4 separate regions of the Homo sapiens genome follow, and all the other regions are linked to region 1. Evidence: promoter capture Hi-C in 16 types of primary human blood cells and fetal thymus (Javierre and others, 2016). All regions are on one chromosome and are shown on one strand. The core of a region is centred on a gene start or on the middle of the fragment in contact, and the rest is flanking DNA. Distances in the headings are between cores, read along the strand shown. Region 1 holds the start of CNOT4 (CCR4-NOT transcription complex subunit 4). Region 2 overlaps CNOT4 (CCR4-NOT transcription complex subunit 4). Region 3 overlaps CNOT4 (CCR4-NOT transcription complex subunit 4). Region 4 overlaps CNOT4 (CCR4-NOT transcription complex subunit 4).

Region 1 (6,331 bases), core at 1,676-4,175:
AAACAATTTTATTTTTCTGCACTTTGTCATTTGATTATAACTGTCTCATCCTAATTTTATAATAGGCCAACTTTAAGCGATTCATGTTCAAAACCTTCTTACAGAAATAATCTATTGATCTCAAGAATTCAACTACTCAACCTGGCAGAAAGTATTCCAAATTATCAAAAGAAACCATGAAAATATGAAGCTTCAGTGTTCATAACGTTAGATCAAAAAACTAAAACCAAGCAAAACTATTTAGAAATCTCAGCTCCCTATTTCCTATCAAAATGTTAAAGAACTTTAGATATCTTCTTTAAACGTACTAAAGATACAAAAGTAAATTCCTTTTGACTTCAGAGGGCTGAAATGAAGAATTCAGTAACTGCGGGCAAAAATTATGGAGGGGAAAGAATTACTTGAGAAAATATTTCGTGAGACAAATACCTTTTTTTAAAAAAAAAGATGTATTAAAATCACTTACTCCCTTCTACCAGACAAACAATCCTCTCCTAGAACTCACTGCTTACAATTCAGCCAAGTATGACTGCCAAGAGTTTCTAAACCTGTGTTAGGATTTTTAAAAGTGGAAAGCTTCTCCACCAGTGTATTACAACAAAAAGTATATTTTTTAGAGTTAAAGATCAACTATTAAATACACTCCTACTGATAAACTAAATGTAAGTGATTAAAAAAAACCCAAAACTCAACTTGTAACTTAGCACAAAGTTTGCTATATAAATTGCTTGCAGTTCTAAGAGTAGGTATTTATTTGGTCCCCCAAATTGGGGCTTAAGTGGCTGAAAGAAAAAAGTTTTATAAACAGCTTTTCTAACCTTAGTTTACATTTGGTAAAACAGACCATTTATCACAATCAAGTGAACATAATGCCAAATGTTAAGATTCCAAATTTTACAGGTAAAATTTGTAAAAATTACAATAACCCAGTAATGGACTGCCACATGAGACTGTCACTGATTTTAAACATTTTTACATATATCTTAAGAATACAATGTCATGTAAGTCATGTTTAAACTTGGGATGTATGTATTTGAACTATGTAATCTTGGTTGCTTTTCTGGTAATTCTTTATCTCACAGTGGTCTGATTATAGCCAGGGCTGCTTCTTCCCATTTTACCATTAGTCAGTACATCTTAATTTTGCTTTCACCAAAACATGGACATCATAAGCCACCTCTTGCTTCCAGTTTTCTGCTTTTTACTGTAGATAACAATGACAGTGAGTTCCACCAAATGCATGTATGTGCACAGCTTTGTCATTCTTTTCCCAGCCCCCTTCTTTTCTATGAGAAAAATACGAGGAACTTAGGTTTATATAAAAATGTCGATTTTTCTTTTGCATACATAACTAATGGATTTTCAAGACAAGACAATTTATTCTGATAACTATCATCCTAGAAATGTCAAGAGAACTTCCCAAATCCAAAAATAAGAAGAAAATCTGATATTAACTGGAGAGGAAATTTCCACTCAAATCATAAATAAAATGTCATCAATTAAGCTGAACATCAATAAAACTCAGTCAAAAATCAAGCCTCAATACAGAACCCACACATAACCCACATGTAATCAAAATATCACTTATATTTGCTAGCGGAGTTCACAGATGAATTCTGTATGTGCGCCAGATTTATCTTATTTTGTAATGCTGGGGTTAATATTTATTGGTATAAATCAGGGCCCACACTAAGTGTCCTGGGGAGAGGCAATCCAAAGAACGCTTAGTAGCATGATAAAACCGGTCCAAAACGAAAAAAAAGAAAAAAAGCCAAGTCCTAACACAACAGAGCGAATAAGCGACAAATAGATCACAGAAAGCAAAACGAAAACGGTCCTCTCCGGAGTAGCCTGAATAAAAGATCTTCACTCATAACGTTTAATAGTATCCTACCTCACTTCATTCACTTCCCAACTTCCTTTTACTTTTCAAGGGCCACCACGGGGCTTCCCTTTTTCTGGAAGTGTATATTGAAAGGATCTGTACAGGAAAGAGGGAAGGAACGGACAATTCTCAAGAAGGCTGAGAAACAGGTGGGTTAGCAGGAGGAGCATAATCTAGATACTTAAGGGGCAGCTTTAAGATGACAGATGTGGTGGAAGGAAAGACTGCAAATCGGAAGCAGCTCTAGTGTGGCAGATACACTGTGGGCTGATTGCAAGCACCAGAGGGGGGCAAAGGCTAACTCCAGAGTGGTAGCAGTGGAGCAAAAAAACAAGCAGCAGGACGAGTGGGCAATGAGCAGTGGGATTAATGAGCAGCAGCAGCCAACACGGATCAGAGTGGAAGTGATGGCTTTGGTCTTGGGAGACGGGGGCCAGAGGGAAAGGACGTCAGACAGGGAACAGGGGATTGGGGAAACAAGGAGGGCTGAGACCTAAGAATCCTGCCCCGGTGAAAATGCAGGGGGAAAAGCTGGAGACCAAAAGCCGCCTCGGCTCCCCAATTAAAGAAATTCTCGAAGGAGAGTCGCTGCTTGCCGCCGCGCTGCCTTCTGACCCGCTCCCTTTTCCTTATGGTAACTGCTGTGGCGTAAAGGGGAGAGGGAGGAAGAGGAGGAGGAGGAAGAAGACCAAGGAGGAGGAGGGTGAAGATGAGGCGGGGGGTGGGGAGAAAGGGGGGTGCGGCCTGTACAGTCCCAGCGAAGCCTCCGCTCTCTCGTAGCCGGTCAGCCCCGGGTTTCCCCTAAGCCCAGCCCCGCATAGACTCACCCGCCTGCCTTGCCTCGCTTTTCCCTCAGCCGACTCCACGGGCTGCCGCGTCCTCACAAGAAACCACCGAACGAGCGTCGGGGAAAAAACTCTTCAGAACCGGGCCTGATTGCTTCAGCGAGTCCGACCTTTACGGCTGAGAGAGAGACTCTCAGCTTTCGGTGGGTTCCACAGCCAGACGGGCCACCATCTTACATTAGGGTAAGACTCCTCCGGCCTCCCGTGCGCAGGCGCACGCTGATCCGGCCAGGAGGGGCGGGGGAGGGGCGGGAGGAGCGGCGGGCGGCTGAGTGGGAGGTTGCGGTGGCCGCTCCCGCAGCACCCTGGGAGTTGAAGTCCTCGGAGGGTAACCTCCCAGGGGCACGCCGGGAGTTGAAGTCCTCTCTCAGAGGGCGGAGGGGATCGCCCACCTCACGTGGCTGCTGGACTGATGCCTTTCTTCGTGTTTTGCTTCCTTCTCTGCACGCGTGTGCTGCTTCAATGTCATTTGGTCGGCGGTTTTCACTAGTGATTCCGTGTCCTCGGTGTTTGCGGAAATGTGCTACCCCAAGACTGGGGCGAGGCTAAACAGTTTTTCGGGGAGCCCGGAATGTTTATTCTCTGCCCCGCCCACCAGGGATATCTAAAGGGGGCGGGGTGGAGGTGGAGGCAGGTTGTGGGTACGAAGAGCGCGGGATTTGATCCAGGGTGAGAATTTGATACAGACTTGGCGTCTGTTTGCGAACAAGGAGGAAACAGGCGCCTGTTTAATTCATTTCCCTGTCCTTGCGCATTTGGGGCCACCACCCTTGATCCCTTCTTCACTGTAAAATCACCAGTGAAGACATACACTAAATTGTTCTGTGCAGATTACCCAAGAGAACGGAACACCCGTGCACTTACAATAACGTGCTTCTGTTGGTGTGAATTTGAGAATTTGCGGACCTCGGTGCAAATTAGTGTTAGTTCGGTGTCCAGCCAGCACAGCTGTGTGCAAGTTTACAAACTACACACATCGGCACATCCCCAAGAACAATAAATGCAGCCACAATCCCTACGAGCACTGAGGAATCATCAGTCACAAAAGTCAGTCAATGTACTGGTCGCCCCGTTTGCATCCCAGAACTCTGGTGGAAGTGGCGCTCGAAGCAGTAACTTTTGCTTATTGCATGTATTCTTCACCCACTCATACAGCAAATACTCAATGAGCTCCTCCTAGCTGCCGGGTACTCTTCTATATATTGAGAATACAATGGTGAGCAAAATAGAAAAAATTCCCTGTCCCTATTCTAGTGATGTGTTGGGATGAGGAAGAGGAGAGAAGAGGCATTATTTTAAAAATACGTGATTAAAATGCATAGTATGTCATAACCGATTTTAAAAACTTAAAGCAGGGAAGGGGAGTAGGGAAAGAGGTTGCAGTTTTAAATTTACGAACTTAATTTCATAATAAGCCCTCAATTCATTGTTTTTTCTTTTTTTTTTTTTTTGAGACGGAGTCTAGCTCTGTCACCCAGGCTGGAGTGCAGTGGCGCGATCTCGGCTCACTGCGACCTCCGCCTGCCGGATTCAAGTGATTCTCCTGCCTCAGCCTCCCGAGTAGCTGGGATTACAGGCACGTGCCACCACGCCAGGCTAATTTTTATATTTTTAGTAGAGACAGGGTTTCACCATGTTGGTCAGCCTGGTCTCGAACTCCTGACCTCAGGTAATCTGCCTGCCTCGGCCTCCCAAAGTACTGGGATTACAGACGTGAGCCAGGGCACCCGGCCTCATTCTTTTGGTACATTGGTTTTCTGTGTTTCAGTTTCCTCACTATAAACCTAGAGACAACAGTTACTTGGGTAAAAATTAAAATATGTAGTGAAGTCACATTTTACCCAAAGTTTGAAATTATAGAATCATGAAATGATTACCTAGCAAGGAAACTTGGGAAATTATTTGGATTTCCCTTTAGGTAATTAAATGCCTAAACATTCAATATGGTTGACATTTTTATTTAAAAATGTGTTTATTGTTCTTGTATATATTACTGATTCTATAGTAGTATATAAACAAAGTAATGAAAAGAACAAAATAAAAAGAAGCCTTCCCATTATGAAAGATTAGAATCATCACAGTAAAAACTGGAAGGGATCTTAAGCATCACCTAATCCAGTGGCAACCTTATCTTACCCAACATTCCTTTTTTTAATAAATGTTTTTATAATATGCTCTTTGTTAGCCTAAAATGAAATTCATAGGTATATAAACTACCTATATACATGATTTCATCTGAAATCAAAATGATGTGCTATTTATAATATAAATGATATGAAGAAAATATTTTATAATAAAATTGTATTTCAATATATAAATGCTCAGCATGACCATTCTAGAAATACAGTCAAGTCATGGTTTGCTAGCACTTATAAATAAAATATCCAACACTAGGGGGCAATGCCACCCCTGTATTGAGACTGACAGTAAGGAGGTGACAGTTCCTAGGTCACCAATTGTAAGAGTCACTACCATCTCAGGCCAGTACTCCTTTTACTATACTACATTGCCAGTTTTCATATGTTTATGTATGCATATGTGTATATATATACTATCATATAGACTTATGTATGTAACACTTCATTCTCATATAATTTTAAAAGTTAACATTAAATTTGGCCAGGTGTGGTGACTCATGCCTGTAATCCTAGGACTTTGGGAGGCTGGGGCGGGAGAACTGTTTGAGGCTAGAAGTTCAAGGCTAGCCTGGGCAACCTAGGGAGACTCTGTCTCTACAAAGATAAAATTTGAAAAACAGCTGGGTATGGTGGTGCCTGCCTGTGGTTCCAGCTACTTGGGAGGCTCAGGTGGGAGGATCACTTGGGCTTGGAAGTTGAGGCCGCAGTAAGCCATGATCATGTCATTGTCCTCCAGCCTGGGCAACAGAGTGAGACTCTGTCTCAAAACAAAACAAAACAAAACAAAAAACATTCAGTTGTATTACTTTGCTTACCTAATGATTCCTAAGTGTGGAACCTATCTATTCACTTAACAAATCTATTTTGCCTTTAGGCATTGTGCTCAATGCTGGTGGTATAGCAAAACAATGGTCAGCAAAACATGGTCCCTGTCCTCATAGAGCATAATGCCTAGTAGAAAAAGCAGAGATTAAATAATCATATAAATAAATAACTACAAGCATATAAACAGAATTTCATATATATGATTACAATTGGTCATGAGTACTAAGAAGATGTATAAAGGATGTTATGAGAAAGTTTAAGAGGGGAGCCTAATTTAGATTGGTGGGGAGAGGAGGGTAGTCTTTACCAGGTTGAGAGTGGAGAATATGCAGAGACAGGAGGTGGTTAAAAAAAACACTCACCACAGGCTGGGCACGATAGCTCACACCTGTAATCCCAGCACTCTGGGAGGCCAAGGCGGGTGGATCACCTGAGGTCAGGGGTTCAAGACCAACCTGGCCAACATGGTGAAACCCCGTCTCTACTAAAAATACCAAAAAAATTAGCCAAGTGTGGTGGCAGGTGCCTGTAATCCCAGCTACTCAGGAAGCTGAGGCAGGAGAATTGCTTGAACCCAGGAGGTGGAGGTTGCAGTGAGCCAAGATCACGCCACTGCACTCCAGCCTGGACAACAAGAC
Region 2 (6,331 bases), core at 1,442-3,941, 130 kb before region 1:
TCAATACATTATTTCAGTATGCAAGTCTGATAACAGAGTGTAAATGCTAAGTGCAGTCCTTGGGCCAAGATCTCACTATATTAAGCAACAGTGCTAGGCTACAAAAGTTGATTGCAGATTTCTTGCATTTCTTCTTGGAGATAGTGATAGCATTATCATCTTTAAATCCTTGTGGAGCTCTCCCTGTTTCCTTATGCTGAAAACAACAACTTCCTTGATTGGGGAAAAAAAAAAAAACAAAAAAACCCAGCAGATATGCTATCATTCTATATGGTGTAACACAGAGTAGCTCTTCTTCAAAGATGAATCGGAGATCACATCTTTAGTGTGTATGTAATACATCTTGGTGCCATTACTATAAGTTTTTTTCCATTTTGTAATATTAGAGATGTCACCAGTCTAGTGGTTATGTGTGTTGTCCCCTAAATTCTCTTTGGTACTGCAGAAAAATCCTGGGTAAATTAAACTCCACCTCTGTTTTACTCTTTTAGTTCTGACACTGGTAATTTTGTAGTTAGCATAAGTTTATTTTAAGAGTACCTGCAAGGTTACAATTTTTTCCCCTGCTAAAGTTACTCCAAGATCACTGGGCCACATTTAACACAGGGCAGCTTTGAAAACCTACAGGATCTGTGACAACAGCTGCCAGCTGGTGGTCATTTTGAAAGCCTTCAAATTCATTGTTTGCAATGAATTCACAGTTGTAAGCCCTTGACTTGAGAGACCTACTGTAATTAAACTGTAAGACACAATAATGTTTAGAGGAGACAGATTCTGAATCTTAAAAGTTTTTTCCTCCACTGAGTTTCAAGCATGAAAGCACATTTACATGGTGAGGGCTAAAGAAACTTCAAATTGTTGTTAGAATGTGACTATAGACAAATCACAATCCTTCGGAGCCTTGTTTATTATCATCATTGTTATTATTCGGTCTTTAAAAGGATTGTTAAAGACTATGTTATATTTATTTATTCATAGCTCTGAAGTGTCATGATTCCAATACAAATCATTTTTAAGTTATCCTTTCCTTGGGTTTTCCCAAAGACTGTGTCATAGATGGGTATCTTAGCAGTGGGACTGGAATTTGATGAGGAAAAGCTATGAAATATTTGTTCAGAAAAAACATGACCAGGGTGAAGTGGGCACCAGTATTACAACCTTATTGCATTTAAATAGGGTCTTTGGTTCCTTCAAAAAAAAATTGGAGAAAGACAATAAAGATACAGCATTTATCCTGAAGATATGAATTGGAACACAGCAGGAATAAATACATGAATAGACATAGGTCAAGGTCACCAAAATGACATGAGACATCTTCCTCTACTACATTCATTAAGTGGAAGATTTAACTGAAAATTGCTTTATATAAAAACACACACACATTCAACCACACATGCATATAGAGGGCTAGGCTTATGGTTTACCTTTGCTAAACAAACTCTTACAGAAGGCTAATTAAATGTCATGAAGACAGTAAGACTATTACTAACATTTCAAAGCTATTTAGAGTTGCTTCAAACATTTTTACCACTCAGAAAAGCAAATCTCCTAAGTGTCTCTTGCCTAGAGCTCCTTGCACTGCCCCCCACTGCCTTTTTAAAAGGGTGTATACAAGTTGCTTGATTCACAAGCTTAAGTTGCAGTAGTACTGCTATGCAGAAATACGGAATATTTAAAGGTTTAACATTTGCCTTTCAGCCTACTGGGTAAAACACAGAGTCTAGAAGCAGCTATTACCACACAGCCCCAACAAGAAACAGACTAAAATTCTTACAGCAGAGTAGGTTACTTATTCTGCTATTTTACCATTGAGATAATTAAAGAATGGTACTGGGTCACTGCATCATACACTTTAAAATAATTAATTGAACGTTATGTGAATTTCACCCGCTATAAAAAAGAAAGAAAGGTAATGGATGCATTAAAGGCTTTATAAATTATATGAGGGGAAAAAGCATTTTGGGATGTTGCTTTGTAACAGCACAATAGTGGGTCTGAGCACCCAACAGGAGCTGGAATAACAAAATTGTTATAAGCACAGTATGTTCCAGGGTCAGCTTGGAGCTTCCAGGAACTCTTAGAATAAAGGTAAAGTGGGCTAAGACAGTGAAGTCAATAGTTGCCTTAGGAAGTGTGGTCAAGAGGAACCTGGAGAAAAGGAAATGGTTCTCAAGGTCAACAACTTCAAGCTGTTTTATGGAACATCTGGGTACTTCAGTCCATTTCTCAAGTAGCTTAGATTACTTAGGCTTGCTCTCAGTTCTAGGTACCTAAACTCGATTTCTCTATAACTCAAACCCAGAGAAGACTCTCTAAAAGACCAAAAAACAGAGTAGAATCTTCTTAATGCATCTCAAATTATCAAGAGTGATTCTTTGGAAATAGCCCCTGACTAAGAAGTGGAAGGCTAGTATGACCAGCAATGTTAGGTGGCTCGATTACAACTCACAGAAGCAAATCACAGGGTGATAAGGAGGTCCAAGGAGCAGTGGCTTCTCAATCCATCAACAAGGTTTCACAAACATAGTATTCTTGAGCAATGATTTGTACTTAGAAGCATTATCCTTTTTAAATGTCACAGTTGATATTTCAGCTGACATATACGGAGTGAGTTTAAAAATACTTTATTAGAAAACTAAGGTTGCTTCCAAACTAGGAATATTTATTATTAACTGACTAGGAGAAAAAAAAAAAACCACACAGTTGACTCCAGGTACCTGGGGTTTTCACATTTGTGGATTCAACCAACATCGAATAGAAAATTTTTTTAAAAAATTGTGTAATTTATTAAGCATGCAGTTTTCGTCAGTCTCTAAACAATATAACAACTATTTACATAGCACTTACATTGTAATAGGTATTAGAAGTAATCTAGAGATTATTTAAAATATACGGCCTCCCATATATGTGCAGGTCATATGCAAATACTACACTGTCTTATATCGAGGACTTGAGAATCCAAGAATTTTGCAATCTGTGGAACCAATCCCCTACAGATACCTAGGGATGACAGTATACGGTATCTTCACCCTGCTCTACTACCTCTTCAGCAATTTTTTCCTAGAGGTCACCTCCTAAGTATACAAAATATAAGAAACAAGGGTAAATTAGCCCAATAATTTGTAGATTTTATTTATTCATAGTACATTCTCTTTGGGGGAAATTATCAAAATATTTTTATAACCTGTTACAATAAAATTCTTACTTTATCTCTACTGTTCACCAGTACCTTAATTCTTATTTGATATATAAATAAAGCAGAATGACCTAATCCAACTATGTAAGAGCAGATGCTTTCCCTTCATAGGTGGAAGCCCATTTTTAAAAAAGCCTTCCAGTTTGCAAGTGAGCTTGGGAGAAGCTATATTACCTGTAATAAGGGCTCCTCAACTACCAAACTCATCATACACCATACCTAATCCCTCTGTCTAAATCTTTCACATCATCAGTAACATTTCTACCAATCCTTCACACTCACTGGGGCTGCTTACTTATAGCTGTCTCATCTCATCCCTGGCTTTTCCTGGTCCTCCCCAGCACTCTGCTTCCATGTCCTCCTACGATGCTTTGAGGAAGGAAGTTTTCCTTTGATCATTTTCAACTCACCGGAAACCTGACCCAGGATTCCCCAGGTGCCCATCTGCGGATGCATGGAATTGCTTCCATGCTTTCTACAATTCTCTCTCACATAGTTTGACTTCCTACACTCATGAAAAGACTGGAGGAGAGAGTATATAGACGGTTACAAAAGACAAGCTTCTTTCCAAACTCCAACCCTCTCCTTTCTCTGGTTCTCAATCATCATTTAGCATTGAGTGGTTATCACAGTGACCACAGTCTCCTAGTTATCATTCCCTTAGCAACACTAACATGTTCTTTGTCATCATCAAAATCTAAAATCATTCAACTCCCTTCCACATCACTCACACCATTTCTTCACAGGAAACTGCCTTAATAGACTCTTCTTGGCACAAGATTATACATTTCAATGTGGTCTTCTTGAATGTCTCTATGTCTTTGTCTTTTTCCCCTTTTAACCAAACACTCAATATTTGCTTTTTCCACTCCTATGCTTTGTGCTAAACCAGAGGAACATACAAAACCACATATATTTCAACTTTAGAGATCTTTAAGCTGACTCTTATCTTTACACAGCAACTAAGCAACTATTTACAATGCATTTCTGGGCTTATTCTCACAAAAGACTTTTTTTTTTAATCTCCTTTAAAAGGCTCCCAATTCCACTCTTTCACCCCCATTTTCAAACAATAATGCATTTTAATAATTACTGATATGAGCCATTTCATCAATTCTCATCTTTCTCTTTCCCCAGGTTCTTCTTGCTCTTACAAATCACAGAGGAAGATACAGCCCACCTCTCTCTCTCTCTTTTTTTTTTTTTTAGACGGAGTCTCGCTCTGTTGCCCAGGCTGGAGCACAGTGGCACCATCTCGGCTCACTGCAAGCTCCACCTCCTGGGTTCGCGCCATTCTCCTGCCTCAGCCTCCCGAGTAGCTGGGGCTACAGGTGCCCGCCACCACGCCCAGCTAATTTTTTTGTATTTTTAGTAGAGACGGGGTTTCACCGTGTTAGCCAGGATGGTCTCGATCTCCTGACCTTGTGATCTGCCTGCCTTGGCCTCCCAAAGTGTTGGGATTACAGGCGTGAGCCACCGCGCCTGGCCACCCACCTCTCTTAAGCTATACCACATGCTCGTCTCAGGAGCTTATCTCTTCCCACCACCCAACGACATCTATTATCCTACTGAATGAGCCTATCTTCTCTTCAGCACTGCCAGTCTCTTCCTCTCAATTGGCTCTGTAAGGTCTGCCTTTAAATATTTAGGTTCTTCTTCTCCCTTATATTAAAGCAATGCCTTCTAAGATCTACCACCCATCTAGTTAGCATCTTGTTTGTCTCTTCAACTTTGTTGTCAAATGTCTTAACACTAAGTAGTCAATGATTGCTGCATACATATTCTTGACATTTCCTCATTAATCCTAAAAAGATGGGCTTCCATTCTGTACTTTTCTATGAAAGTTACATTTTTAAAGATCACCACAGATCTAACCAAATCTGAAGGCCTTTTCTCAGCTCTTACGCTTTCCAATTTCTAATTCATAGTTCTTCTCCATTCCAACCACTACTGTGCTAGTCTAGGCCAACTTATTTGCACTGGCCAGCAATGGCATACTACTGGAATTACTTTCTAACCGGTCCTAATTGCAATCAAATCTATTACCCCATTACTGTTCTTAAAATGCTATGTTCAAACTACATTTTTGCTAAGAACCTATAGTTCTCTACCACTGACCACATTCACATCAAGACTAAACTCTTCTTCTGGTTTTCAAGGCTTTAAACACACTTATCCAAGCTTACCAGTCCCTGAATACCTCAGCTGGATCTCCTTACTGCCCTATCCCAACCCCTATAGGCCACTGTAAGATTTCAAAGCAACTGCAATTTGTTCCTTTCTCTTGTCTTTCTGAGGCAATGCCTCCGTGGGAGTACCTATGGACCTGTGCCAGAGCTCTGGCAGTCTTGACAGTGCTCGGAACACTGTACAAATAGGAGTCATGTCAGTGGAAATGTGCAGAGGTAAAATGCATTAAAGTTGTTTTCTTTAAAGGAACACCTACACAGAAGGCTGTACTTAATTCCCAGGATGCTAAGAGTAAGAGACATGAGCTCACACACACGTAGAATAATGAATGTTTGTCTTTCCTAGTAAGGTTTTTTCACCTCCCTCCAAATTATCATAAATTTTAAAATTTGAAATATAAGTATTCAATACCCTTTGTTGCCACTGTCGGAGCAGTTACTGAGAGATGATAAATAATAAAATGAGTCTGGACTGCTATGGTGGTTCCTGTGATTAAAATATTATCAAGACCTGACAGAAATAATGTGAAATATAATTGTCACTAGAATTATCCTTGATGATAGGGTCTGTATTTTATTCAACCTTGTATCTCTAAAGATCTAGTTCAAGTCACTATACAGAATAGGTACTCAAATATTTAATTAATGCTTTGTTGAAATAAGGGGAGAGTACACAAAAGTAACACATGGAAAACCAAAATTCAATAATAGAATGAAAAGGAAAGCATTATTAGTCAGAAAAAAATATTTTCTAATGCAATCTTAGAGAAAATAAAGAGGCACTTATAATTCATCATACAACTAAAATCATTCAGTACAGGACTCTATTCCCTAAAGTGGCACTAAAAACATTTCAAGGCAGCTGTTCTTTTTTTTTTTTTTTTTGATGGGAGAAGGGGATCACCAAATCCTTCACAAATCTAATAACTATGGATCTTCTCCCTAG
Region 3 (6,331 bases), core at 2,576-5,075, 100 kb before region 1:
AATAAGTACAAAGAATTAGTTTTTAATAATAAAGTCAAAATATGGACATCTACTAGCCTAAACATATCACAAAATGTGGTAACCTTCAAAAACAGCAAGTCTCCACTTATTCATAAATTCTGTATTTCAGTAATACACTTAATGTTTTTAAAAGATTTATATTTAAGTTAAACCTAAACACACTTCTTATTTGCTTTCATTCTAGTAAACAAGGGCACACACAACCCTATCTTTAACTGCCCCTTAACCCCACACTCATCCCACCCCACCCTCTGGAACAAATACTTTAGACAAGTGGTTCTAACTTCTTTTTTGACCATATTCTACTTAGGTGGGCCAAGATATCCCAGTTCACTTACTAGTTTTTCACTGCATATGCACATGTGCACTAACTCTGTATGTAGCCAAATACGACATAGGAAGAAAACTTTTCAAGAGAAATAAGGAAGATTCTGAGATATAAACTCAGAAAAACCTAGTAATCTGCTGATTTTAATGTAAATATAAAATCTTAGCAAACTTTAACTCACTCACTTAACTTACTAGTCCATTTCTCATGGCACCTGACCATAGTTTGAGAATCACTGCTTTATTCCACTCCTGAATTCACCTCTAATCTATCTAGAAGTATCAGCAGACCAGTGCCCTCTACACCAATATTTAATTGATAACTATTTTTAGGTCAGTTCTCTCTCTCAAAAGAATGTGCACAGATGCAAAATGTTACATAAAATTTCAGTGTTCACAAATATCCTGAGGCCTATTCATAATCTAACAATCTCTGCTTGAGACCTTTTTCTACAAATCTATGAACTATGTCTTTTCTAAATCTCAAGAGTTTTACCAAATAATTATGAGAATGGAATTCATGCAGTGACCATTCCCATTCTGCTGAACTAATAAGGTACTCTGACTATACCTTCAGTCTATCAGAGATTATACTTGATTTTCAGTAAGGATATAGCTGTATTTTTATTTTAAAAGATGTATACTCCTTCTCAAATGTAATAAAAATCGATAAATTCCTATAAAAGTTTCCCTTTCACCATTTCTCTAGCTAATCCATTACTGCCACCAATCTGTGGCTCAGGGAAAGTTTGCTAAAAATAACATCAATTCCTTGGAATTTACAATCCATCCACTACATCTGTCTTCAGATAACAAGCCTCAAGCACCAGATATTTTCAAGATCAAACTACATATAGTTATGGCACAGTTTCATTTAAGCAAATTTGATTTATGTTTTAAAAAGTTTTTCCTAAGAGCTGCTCTTAAGAATTTTACCTCTTCTAGACTGAAGAGTGGGAGAATGAGGGATGAGCTTGGGCTTTAAAGTCACAGAGACTTTGGTCAGAATCTTATCTACTGCTTATTTGTGTGGGATACTGGTAAACTGTTTAAACTCTCTGAGACTTAAGTTTTTTTACCCGTAGTAAGAAAACAATATATACCACACAGGCCTACTGAGGATATTAAATGAACACAGAAGACTCAAAACTTTTATTCCACCCTCGCTCCACCTAAATCTAAAGCCGAACATCTCCATTTCCTCAATGATGGCTTGTTTCAGCCACAATATCAAGTCATAACCATTTACACCGAGTGATCTGCATACCCCACAATTCTTGTAACTAGGCCTGCTCACTGTCTTGGGCACAGCAGCCTACCTAGTTACTATTCCTTTCACAGTTGGTACTTAAATAGCATCTCAATCTAAATGAAGATATTTCAAAGCCCCAAACTTAAAAATAATAAAATAGCCAGTCCTTAAGCATCATTACTGCAAGGCTTCATCACTTCCCACTCTCATTACTTGTATTCATCATTTCAAAGCAACTTATTCATAGCACATATATAGTTCAAAACTCATTAAGACTGATATACTCTCGAATTCATAATAATGAAGGGGAGCAGATGACAAATTCCTTTTTTAGAATTTTCTGCTCACTAGGTGAAATAAGAGTAAAATATATTATAGAAAAATTCACTTACTAACATATATGTGCATCGGGGACCATGTCAGGGTTCAGTGAGGATTAATAGCTATGGTAATCTTAAGATTTGTACTCTGGCTTAATTGAAAATAAGAGAAAATCACATTTTAAGCTTAGAGCCTCAATCTATAAGGTTCCAGGCTTTGCTTTCTTGCAATTCTTTCTGTAAAACTGCTACCCACTATCTAGGAATGCCAAGAAATGTGAAAATGAAACCCTTCTTTGAGTTTCTTTTTTTCCTAGAAAGTTTAAGTCTTAACTTACCTTGAAGATGAAGAAACCTATCTCTTGGGTATGACCTTGGAAAGAGTTACACTGCTCATCACTCTAATTTGGCAAGTCTTTCCTGTGAGAAATCTTATCTACAAATTCATCCCTACTACCTACTGCCTCTGTATGCCTACCCTGGGTGATGGCAATGTGGAAGTGGAAACCAAAGCAGACCTTTCGCTATGACTGACAGTCAGCCAAAGGCTTACTCTCTGTAACTTGGGCCATTAATTGTCACTTAATAAATTTAGGTAACCGCATTAAAACAGAAAACATCCCCACCCCCCACCCTCCCCCCCAAAAAAAGTTTCTATATCATGTACTTATGCAAAGCATGTACACCTATGTCAAAATTTGCTCTGGCCAGGCACAGTGGCTCATACCTATAATCCCAGCTCTTTGGGAGGCCAAGGCAGGCGAATCGCTTGAGCCCAGGAGTTTGAGACCAGCCTGGGCAACATGGTGAAACGCCATCTCTACAAAAAAAAAGAAAAATTAACTGGGTGTGTTGATGTGCACCTGTAGTTTCAGCTATTCAGAAGGCTGAGGTGGGATGATCGTTTGAGCCTGGGAGGTCAAGGCTGCAGTGAGCTACGATTACACCACTGTGCTCCAGCCCAGGTGACAGCAAGACTCTCAAAAATTTTTTTTTATTCTGGTCCCAGCTGAGGTTCTGTAGCACTGGCTTTGGGCAAAATTAGTAAATGAGTTTACTTGTTTTATATTTCCTCTTTTCCTCCTGTTTCCCCCTTTACAACTTGTGGCTCCTAGACATTCTCCTGCTACCAAAACAGTTATGAATGTGCTCTATGGACTACCTGACTATACTTTATAATAAAGGCAAAGTCAATAAAATGTTAGCAAATCTATTAATAACTGATTACAAAAATAAGTAAATAATATAGTTTGAATGTATGTCCCCACCAAATCTCCTGTTGAATTATAATCCCCAGTGTTGAAGGTGGGGCCTGGTGGGAGGCATTTGAATCATGGGGGTGGACGTCTCATGAATGGCTTGGGCCATCCCCTTGGTGATGAGTAAGCTCTTGCTCTGAGTTCACAGGAGATCTGGTCATTTAAAAGTGTGTGGTACCTTCCCCCTCCAACCCCCTCCCTCTTGCTATCGCTGTATATGATGTGCCTGCCTCCCGCTTTGCCCAGAAGCCAAGTGATGTCAGCACCATGCTTGTACAGCCTGCAGAACTGTGAGCCAAATGAATCTCTCTTCTTTATAAATTATCCAGTCTCAAGTATTTCTTTATAGCAATGCAAGAACAGACTAAACACAGTAAAAGCTAACTACTTGTTATAAATGCCAAAGATACTTTTGGTAAATTCCAATATTCATTTCCAATCTAAAGGAAAAAAGTCTCAATAAATGAGGAATAACAAGGTATTTCATATTGTGATTAAAAATACTTATCTCAAGTAAATGATCAAAATCATCCTTAAAGAGTAAATAAAACACTAGAGACATCCCCATGAAAGTAAGTATGAGGTAAAAACACCTGCTAGTGCTACCAGTCTAACACTGTTTTTGCACTGTTTAGCCTAAGCATTTTTCAAATAGAAAGAGGTGGTAGGAGATCCAATACAATAAAACAGGAAAAAGAAAATCTTTCCCGAAAGGCACAAGAGAGATATGCTATGCTAATGGTTGGGAGGAGTCAATGTTTGTTTTTGTTTTTTGTAGAGGCAGGGGTCTTGCTTTGTTGCCCAGGCTGCTCTCGAACTCCTGGCCTGAAGTGATCCGCCTGTCTCAGCCTCATGAAGTTCTGGGATTACAGGCATGTGCCACCAGGCCCGGCCTCAGTGTCACAGAATATAAATTCTTCCAATACTGATTTACAAATTCAATGTATTTTGAAACACAAATAATTGATCAACTGATTGGGGAAGTTCAGATCTCTGTAACTCATATAAAACTTTTAAACACACAAATAAAACATGGGAAACATAAACTCACAGTGCATAAAAAGTTCACTCTGTTAATCAAATACAAGTTAAAATGAGACAGCTTTTTTTGTTTATCAAATTGGCAAGTATGCAGAAGGCAAAAAAAAATACCCAATTCAAGGAAATAGGTACTCTCATATTCTGACTCAGCAGTTCTACTTGTAGGAACAATCAAAGCTATAACCATTTATATGTTACAACCATATAACATTTATATGTAAAGATGTTCATATCACAGTGTTATCAATAATATCAACAAAGTCAACATAACATACAATAGCAGAAGGTTGGCTTAATAAATTTAAAATATGAACATATAGTGAAATACTACATAGCCATAAAAAATTATGTTTTAGTGACATGGGGAAATTATTCATAATAATATGTATTAGGTTTTCAAATGTAACAAACCAAGGTACTCTGTGTATAATGGTTTATAGGCATTCGCAAGAAGAAAAAAGACTAAGAAAATACACAATGCAAGGAATTAGTGTATAAGAAAATACACTAACACTTTACAAATTTACATTTTACAATAATTTGTATTTATTCATGCATTCATCTTCCAACCTACTTACTGGGGTTCAGGGTTGCAGGTGGCCAGAGCTCATCCTAGCAAATCAGAGGGCAAGGCAGGAACCAACCTTGGCAGGGTCCCCTCACACACATAAACACTCACACTCACTCACAATGGGACAATTTGGACATGTCAATTCACTTAACGTGCACAGCTTTGGGATGTGGGAGGAAACCAGAGTGCCCAGAGGAAATCCACGCAGACATGGGGAGAACAGGCAAAGTCCACAGAGGCAGTGGCCCCAACTGGGAATCGATTTTTTTCTCATCAACATTGTAACAAAACAATACTGAATGAAATGATGTTATTGGAGGGCATGCTGTACACAAATCACTTTCAATGAAAAGCTCTGGGTATTAAGATCATATGCAATGTTTATTTTATTCTGTATGCTTTCATAAATTTTTCACATTTCCTTCAATAAAAACATATAGTTTTATATTCAGAAGACAACAAATGTTATCTCAAAGAGATCATCTAAATTTTAAATTTTTGCTCTGAAATCACCAAGGGCTATAAACCCAGAATTTGACTTAAATTAGAATGACAACATTTTTAATGCAAACAATGATGTGCATAAATGTTAAAAGCATCTAAAATAAACCACTGTTTACTACAATAACTTCATTCTTATACCAAGCACTACAGAGGTGGCAACGAATAAGATAAGTAATAGCATATGGTTTGCCATAAAATAACCATACAGGGCTAGAAAAGGGTGGGTACAAAAGATTAAAGGAAAAGATCAAAGCTTGTCAAACCAGAAAGATCTGTTTTGACTTAGCTTTTATTCTTAGCTTTGATATAAACAAATTTTACATAGTTTACTATACAGTAACTTTATGTTTCGCTTTGTGGCCTATTTTATATTTATTTATATTTACATACACATATATATGTGTCTAATTTAGTTTTTAATAATTTAAATAATCTTTACTCTTAAAATGAATAAACACAGACTTCAAAATTTAAAGAATGTGTTTTTGAAGAAATGGACTCAAACAATAATCCATGTAGTTATTATTAGCTATGTTTGAAAATAGTTCTTACATCATTTTAGCACCAAACAGACACTGGGCTATAATATTTAACACCTAGACATTAGGACAACATTCAAACAAATTTAACTTTGGAATTTTAAAAAAAGATCATCAACATAAATTAATTACAACATTTACTTTTAAAATTCATTTGATAAAAGTTAAACTTATCAAATAAAAAAGAACAAAAAACCTAACACATCAAATTTAAAGAAAGTTCAGGATAGAATAAAATTCCCAAATTATATTTATTAATATGATTTTCTGACAGGCCATAACAAAATATAATCTAAGATAAGAAGATCAACATATCAGAATGAGACTCTCTACTGAAGACCATAAATTTATTTAAGCATTGACACAATATAGTTTACCCAAAACCATAATGAGATGGAAGATAGGAGATGACTGGTCTCCTAAGATAAGTAAGATTCTGAATATGGGATACTCCCTGTTCATTTACAGGATTTAAATGACTTTAGTGATTCCTGGAA
Region 4 (6,331 bases), core at 2,820-5,319, 74 kb before region 1:
GGGTGACATGAGTGAAACTCCATCTCAAAAAAAAAAAGAAACATATCATGGGCCATAGCTCAAAAACATAAAATATGGATAATATAACAAACATGCTGTACTATTATGTATACTGAAAACTATAAAACATTGCTAAAGAAATTTTAAAACATGTAAAGATATACCTTATTCATGAACTAAAGGAGTCAACATTTTTAAGATGTCATTTTTCCTCAAAATGATCTAACTGTAGAGTTAAGGTAATCTCCATCAAAATCCCAGTAGGCTTTTTGTTGAAACTCACAAACTGATTCAAAAATTTATGTGCAAATGCTAAATACTTAGAATACCCAAAATAAATTCTAAAAAGAATAACAAAGTTGAAAACCTTGTCACGCCAGGTTTCAAAACTTACAATAATAAAGACAGTATGGTATGAGCATATGGATAGATATAATCATCAATGGACAGAATACAGATGCTAGTATTGGATTTATACATTTATGGGCAATTGACTTTCAGGAAAGATTTCAAAACCAATCAAGAGTGAAAGGACAGTCTTTTCTGCAAACGATGCTGCAACAAGAATATCAGCATAGGAAAAAAAAATATATCATGACCCCTACCTCACATGTGAGCCACTGCAGCATAATATGATTGCTTTTTCATTTCTCTACAACTTTTTGTTTCCCCTAGAGTTAATCTGTTTTGTCTGATTATATTTTTAGGTGTTCATTACTAATTCAACCATCAAATCTCTTCAAACTGGCAAAATGGTCTCACAAGACATTTCTCTTTTAGAACACCAAGTATTCTTTTAATTTTATCTTTTTCTACAAATCCCTCTTGCAGTTCTCTGATGTGTTGCATTTTGGACTGGTTGCCCTCTTTACCTTGGGCACAGCTGTCATCCTTTCCCCAGGGGCTTCTCTCCTGTGTTGGATCTCCTGTTTCCTTTATCCCATGATTCTCTGTTCTTTATTCCTTCATGTTGGTGGGGCACATCCTCCAATAGATTCCTGGGAGAGAATGCATGGAAGGTAAAAAAATTTTGAGGCCTCTCAGGTCTGAAAATGTCTTTTAGTGTACCGTCACACTTAACAGTTGAGCAGATACGGAATCCGAAGATGAAAATTAATTTCCTTCAGAAGTATCTTCTAGCTTGAAGTCTTGCTATTGAGAAATCTGAAACGATTCGGATTCCTTGTCTTTTACATGCGATCTGCTATTTTCCTCTGTGGAAGCTTGTAGAACTTCTTTGTCTTTGGTATTCTGGTATTTCCAAATAAAAAAGTTTGTGCTGGACACTTGATAGGCCCTTTCAATCTGAAAATGTGTTCTTTGGTTCTGGGAAATATTCTTCGATCATATTCTTGGATGATTACTTCCCCTCTGTATCACTGTGATCTCGTCCTAGAGTACTGATCTCTTCCTAGAGCACTTAATTGTTTGGTATTTGACGTCCTTGATTGATCCTCAGATGAACTTAATCTCTTCTCCCAAATATTTCATCTCTTTTGCTTTTTGTTTCACTAAAAGATCTTCTCAACTTCATCTTCCAATGCTTTCCTTCAGTTATTTTTGCTATTATATTTTAATTTTCAATGACAATGGTTACTGTTCACTGAATATTCTTCTTTATATCATCCTGTTCTTTTTTTTTTTTTTTTTTTTTCTTGAGGTAGTATCTTGCTCTATCACCCAGGCTGGAGTGCAGTGGCATGAACATGGCTCACTGTAGCTTCAACCTCCTGGGTTCAAGCGATCCTCCCACCTTAGCCTCCCGAGTAGCTGGGACTACAAGCATGTGCCACCACACTCAGCTAATTTTTCTTATTGTTATTAGAGATGAGGCCTCGCCATGTTACCCAGGCTGGTCTCAAACTCCTAACCTCAAACAATCCTCCCACCTCAGCCTCCCAAAATGTTGGGATTACAAGCATGAGCCACCATGTCCAAACCACCATCCTGTTTTTGTTTCATAGATACATTATCTTCTATTATTTCTGAAATAAAAATAATAATACTTCTGTTGAAGTTCTCATTTCCTTGTATAGTCTCTGGTTTCCATGGGAATCAATACAGAATGCCACATCAGTGCACCACCTATGTTCCCATATCTGCTGTTTCCACTAGTAGCTTTCTCAGAAATGCTGCACTAAAAGGACACATGAAAGCAGTCTAAGAAAAAACCAAGTAGCCTGTGCCTGTGTTTAGCAGCTAGGACCAAACGGGAACACTAAACTCTCTTGGTTTTTAAAATCTGGCTGTCTCTGCTTTTCAAAGATATTAAAGCTAAGAGAAACTTTCTGCAAAACAGGCACGTTTCATATTGTAGACTGAGAACAGGAGCTTGATTCAACTAGCTCCCTACTTGCATCTCCCAAGTTTCTTCAGATCATCTCAATATGCCACCTCACAGCATGGCCTCTGTAGACCCTGTGCCTGCAGGGTTGGGTTACATGTAAATGGCAGCTTCATGACCCTCTCTAGGCCTCTAGCAACATTGTGGTTTTCCTCTGTGTTAACACAACCACTGTAGATGGCCTCCAGAGACCAAAGACTTGCTTGACTCCGACCGACACAGGCAACTTCACAAATATTTATCTTGCGCTGCGCTGAGCAGATTCTCTGGCAAGACTAGGCCAGGATTCAGACTCCAAGACTCTCTGCTGCCTGCACTACAAAGTCTGGTGACCAGGAGACCAAGAAGAGGTTCTAGGAGATGTGATTAAGTCAACAAGAAACCAAAAAATTATTCCTGGCCTAATAACAATAACCACCTCAGCTAAAGATGTAACTTGGAGACCCTAAAGGGAGGTTGTCTTAGACCTCTGTAATCTGGATTTCTTTTTTCTGTAACTGTTGGAAAGTTTTGGTGCTTATCCTTAGACAATCTTTCATCTTTTCAATTCATGATCTTATCCAGTCTCGTGATGTTATAAATAACACACTATATGCTAACTGACACCAAAATCTGTATCTCCATACCAGAACCTCACCTGAAATCCAGACATGAACATTCATTCACCTGTCTACTCAATATCTCCACTTAGATTTCTAATAGGAATCTCATACTTAACATGTCTAAAACTGAGTTTCTGATCTTCTCAAATGTCTATTCCTGGTGCAGTCTTCCCCATTTCAGTTAATGGCCATTCTTTACTTTCAGGTGTTCAGTCAAAACCCTGCAGTCATCCTCAACTCTCTGTTTGTATGGTGGTTCATGAATAATAAAGTTCATGAATCTTTGCATGTGTGAAAATGTTTTATTATGCCTTTACATATTAATAAAATTGAGAGCTCTCCTTTCAAAGTTACGTTCCCTCAAAATTTGGGAAAATAAATTTCTCAGTTTATTTTCTGTAATTGTAAAATGAAAATACCGGTATTAATTTTAGTCTTGTTCTGTTGTATTCTAAATATTTATCTCTCACAAGCTTTTAGAGTTTTCTCTATTCTAGATGTTCTAAAATTTCACAATTATATAAACAAACATTGATCTTTTTCAGTCACCTTGCTTCACACTCACAGGGCCCTTCTAATCTAAGAGGAATTTTCTTCTATTAGTTCTTTGATTATTTCTTCCTATTCATTTTTAGTTCACTCCTCTGAGACTGCTCTCAGCAGAGATTAGAACCTGTGGATCTATGCTGCTTTTCCTTCATGCTTTCTATTTTTTCTCTTGTTGCATTATATTCTTCAATAAAAACCCACTCAGCACAAGCTTCCAATTTATCAATTTGCTCTTATAATGTGTCCATTTTGCTTTTCAGGCCATCTATAAGATTTTTCAAGACCTCTCTAATTTGTTCTTTTTATAAGGAAATATAATCTTTCTACATGAATATGACATTCCCTCTTTCCTTTCCGAAAGGTACCAATGATAGTTTTAAATGTCTTTCTGTTTTGTTTCCTGTGTTAGGATCTTCTATTTACTGAATTTTGTGCTTCTCTTTCATGATGTTGGTTTTCCTGAAATCTGTGTTAATTCTTGTTTTTGCACACCTTTACATGTGAGAATCCTGGTAATCTGCCTATAAATGCTATTTCTGTTTACTGCAAGATTCTCCTTTGTGACTGTAGCAAAGACATATTGCTGGACAGGTAATCTGCTAGGTATAGAAGCTCCTAGTTCCTCCAGAATGTTTCCATTAACCTTAAGGCTCTGATTCAAACTTATAATCACTGTTTTAATTAGAGGGCATCTGTCTCTGCTACATGGCACAAAAAAGGGGGTAGGCCTATAAGGCTGCTCTGACACCATACTTGACCCAACTACACTGATATTTTTCCTAGGATCCTGAAGCACTCCCATTCCTTTTTTTTTTTTAAGCAGTTTTCTCTTGAGCTGATCTAATGCTTCCTCCTTGAAATTGATTCCAATGTCCTTCTTGTCTTTCAGAGATTCCTCACACTTTCTGGTATTCCCAGGACACCCTTTTATTCATATCAAGCTTGCTAAAGTTATACTGTTTTTACCTTTAAAATCTTCTATTTTTTTTTCTTTTTTTACTTTCTAAGGACTTGAAGTAATTTTAGGTAATCTCTTAAGATTGAAATGACTTTCTTTGTAATTTCCCCAAATAACTTATTTTTCTGTAATGACAATTTAATAACTGGTCCTTTTAAGGTGACTTCATAACATCCCAAAGGGAAAAAAAAAAGAAAAGAAAAAGATAAACATCATGAAGCCAATCAAATTTACAATCCTTAGAGTCTTGGGCAATCCTGAAAGTCATTACTTCTGATGAAATAGTTCAATATGATTGTCTTCTTATGGAATGACTGGGGAACCAATTTCTAAAATATAACTAAATGTTCAAATCCATAAACAAAAATTTATATAGATTTTTCCCAAAGCTAATGTTAGGGTTTTCATTTACCTTTCCATTCACATTTCTTAAACTATATTAACTACATGAAATATTATATATATACAAATTATATATACACATTATATATGTTACATATACAATATATGTGTAACTATATAAATGTATAAACTATATTAACATTGAAATAGACCTAACTTTTTATTCATATAATATATATACATATCCACTGGATTAATTTTAAAAATCTAATGATAAATAAACAATGCATTGCCTTCTGAGATTTATTATAAATTCTCAGGTAAGAAAACTAAGAGACAGATTATTTTTTAAATTTTAGATATCTAAAACACATTTCAGCTTTCTCAAAATTTGATAGTAATGAACACAAGAGGTCTTTAAAATGGGTAATTAGAAAATAAAGTTTAAATTATACAAACATTAAAGAAAAGGCAAATTCCATAATAAAGTGGCAGATATTTGCATTAATCCCTAAGGTCACAAATAAAGTCCTTCAAAATACAAATGTGGCAGTCCTACCTATCCTAGTAGTTAATTCACTATACTGTAATTGTGTCGCTGGTGCTTATCAAAACAATAAAACCCATAGAATATTAAAAATAATAGATTTTTAGAGTTAGGAGGGGCTTTTCTTTTCTTTTCTTTTCTTTTTTTTGAGACGGAGTCTCGCTCTGTTGCCCAGGCTGGAGTGCTGTGGCACGATCTCGGCTCACTGCAAGCTCCGCCTTCCGGGTTCACGCCATTCTCCTGCCTCAGCCTCCCAAGTAGCTGGGACTATAGGTGCTCGCCACCACGCCTGCCTAATTTTTTGTATTTTTAGTAGAGACAGGGTTTCACTGTGTTAGCCAGGATGGTCTCGATCTCCTGACCTTGTGATCCGCCTGCCTCAGCCTCCCAAAGTGCTGGGATTACAGGCGTGAGCCACCGCGCCCGGCCAGGAGGGGCTTTTCAATAATACAATAGTTCAGAACAGACTATAGACTCAAAAGACATTTGAATTCCAAACCTCCTACCTACTACTCACAAGTTGATGACTCTGGACAAGTTATCTAAGCTCCTGTTTCCTTGAGTGTAAAATGGGAATATCAATACCAGCCTAAAATTGCTGTAAGGGCTCAAGAAATGAGCATTTATTATCTTCTGAACGAGGATTTCTCTGTCATTTTAACTCTTTTTAGTAAACATCTTCTCTCCTATTTTGTACTAGAAAATTAAGGTGAATTTCCTCCCACATGTAATATAAAATGTTTTTCTAATTTCATGCAACCCTATCCAAATCCATTACCTCTCTATTCTTAATTTCCTTAAGCAGTAAGCATCCCTGACCATGTCTTTCTCCTCGGATAAAACAACAACAAACTAAAGGCCAATCAGAGAGGTTACATGACTTTACAAAGATCATACAGCTAGTAAACAAAGCCAAGACGTGGCCCTGACTCCCAGTGCAGTGTTCTTTCCACCTTATATCTTAAAATAATACACATAATAAAATAATA

The links. The method cuts DNA at HindIII sites, captures the fragments that hold promoters and counts their contacts. A CHiCAGO score of 5 or more calls a contact.
Region 2: a fragment that was not itself captured here is called in contact with the fragment with the promoter of CNOT4 in region 1 in 1 of 17 cell types (M1 macrophages); the score reaches 5.1 in M1 macrophages.
Region 3: a contact is called between a fragment that was not itself captured here and the fragment with the promoter of CNOT4 in region 1, in 2 of 17 cell types (erythroblasts and M2 macrophages). The highest score is 6.3, in erythroblasts.
Region 4: a contact is called between a fragment that was not itself captured here and the fragment with the promoter of CNOT4 in region 1, in 1 of 17 cell types (M1 macrophages). The highest score is 5.3, in M1 macrophages.

The regions. Positions count from the first base shown.
Region 1 is chr7:135,507,177-135,513,507 of GRCh38, forward strand. CNOT4 (CCR4-NOT transcription complex subunit 4) reads right to left here and starts at 2,926. Exons shown (of 12, transcript NM_001190850.2): 1 at 2,713-2,926. RefSeq lists enhancers at 1,996-2,901, 2,672-2,871, 2,902-3,806, 3,182-3,301, 3,452-3,621 and a silencer at 2,872-3,111. The HindIII fragment of the contact is 7,472 bases long and covers 575-6,331 here.
Region 2 is chr7:135,379,901-135,386,231 of GRCh38, forward strand. All of the region lies in intron 10 of CNOT4 (CCR4-NOT transcription complex subunit 4), which reads right to left. Among named protein-coding and RNA genes, the nearest start is that of CNOT4, 130 kb to the right of the region's middle. RefSeq lists an enhancer at 416-996. The HindIII fragment of the contact is 2,125 bases long and covers 1,630-3,754 here.
Region 3 is chr7:135,403,753-135,410,083 of GRCh38, forward strand. The region is part of intron 7 of CNOT4 (CCR4-NOT transcription complex subunit 4); the gene reads right to left. Among named protein-coding and RNA genes, the nearest start is that of CNOT4, 100 kb to the right of the region's middle. The HindIII fragment of the contact is 3,442 bases long and covers 2,105-5,546 here.
Region 4 is chr7:135,431,718-135,438,048 of GRCh38, forward strand. The region is part of intron 2 of CNOT4 (CCR4-NOT transcription complex subunit 4); the gene reads right to left. Among named protein-coding and RNA genes, the nearest start is that of CNOT4, 75 kb to the right of the region's middle. The HindIII fragment of the contact is 730 bases long and covers 3,705-4,434 here.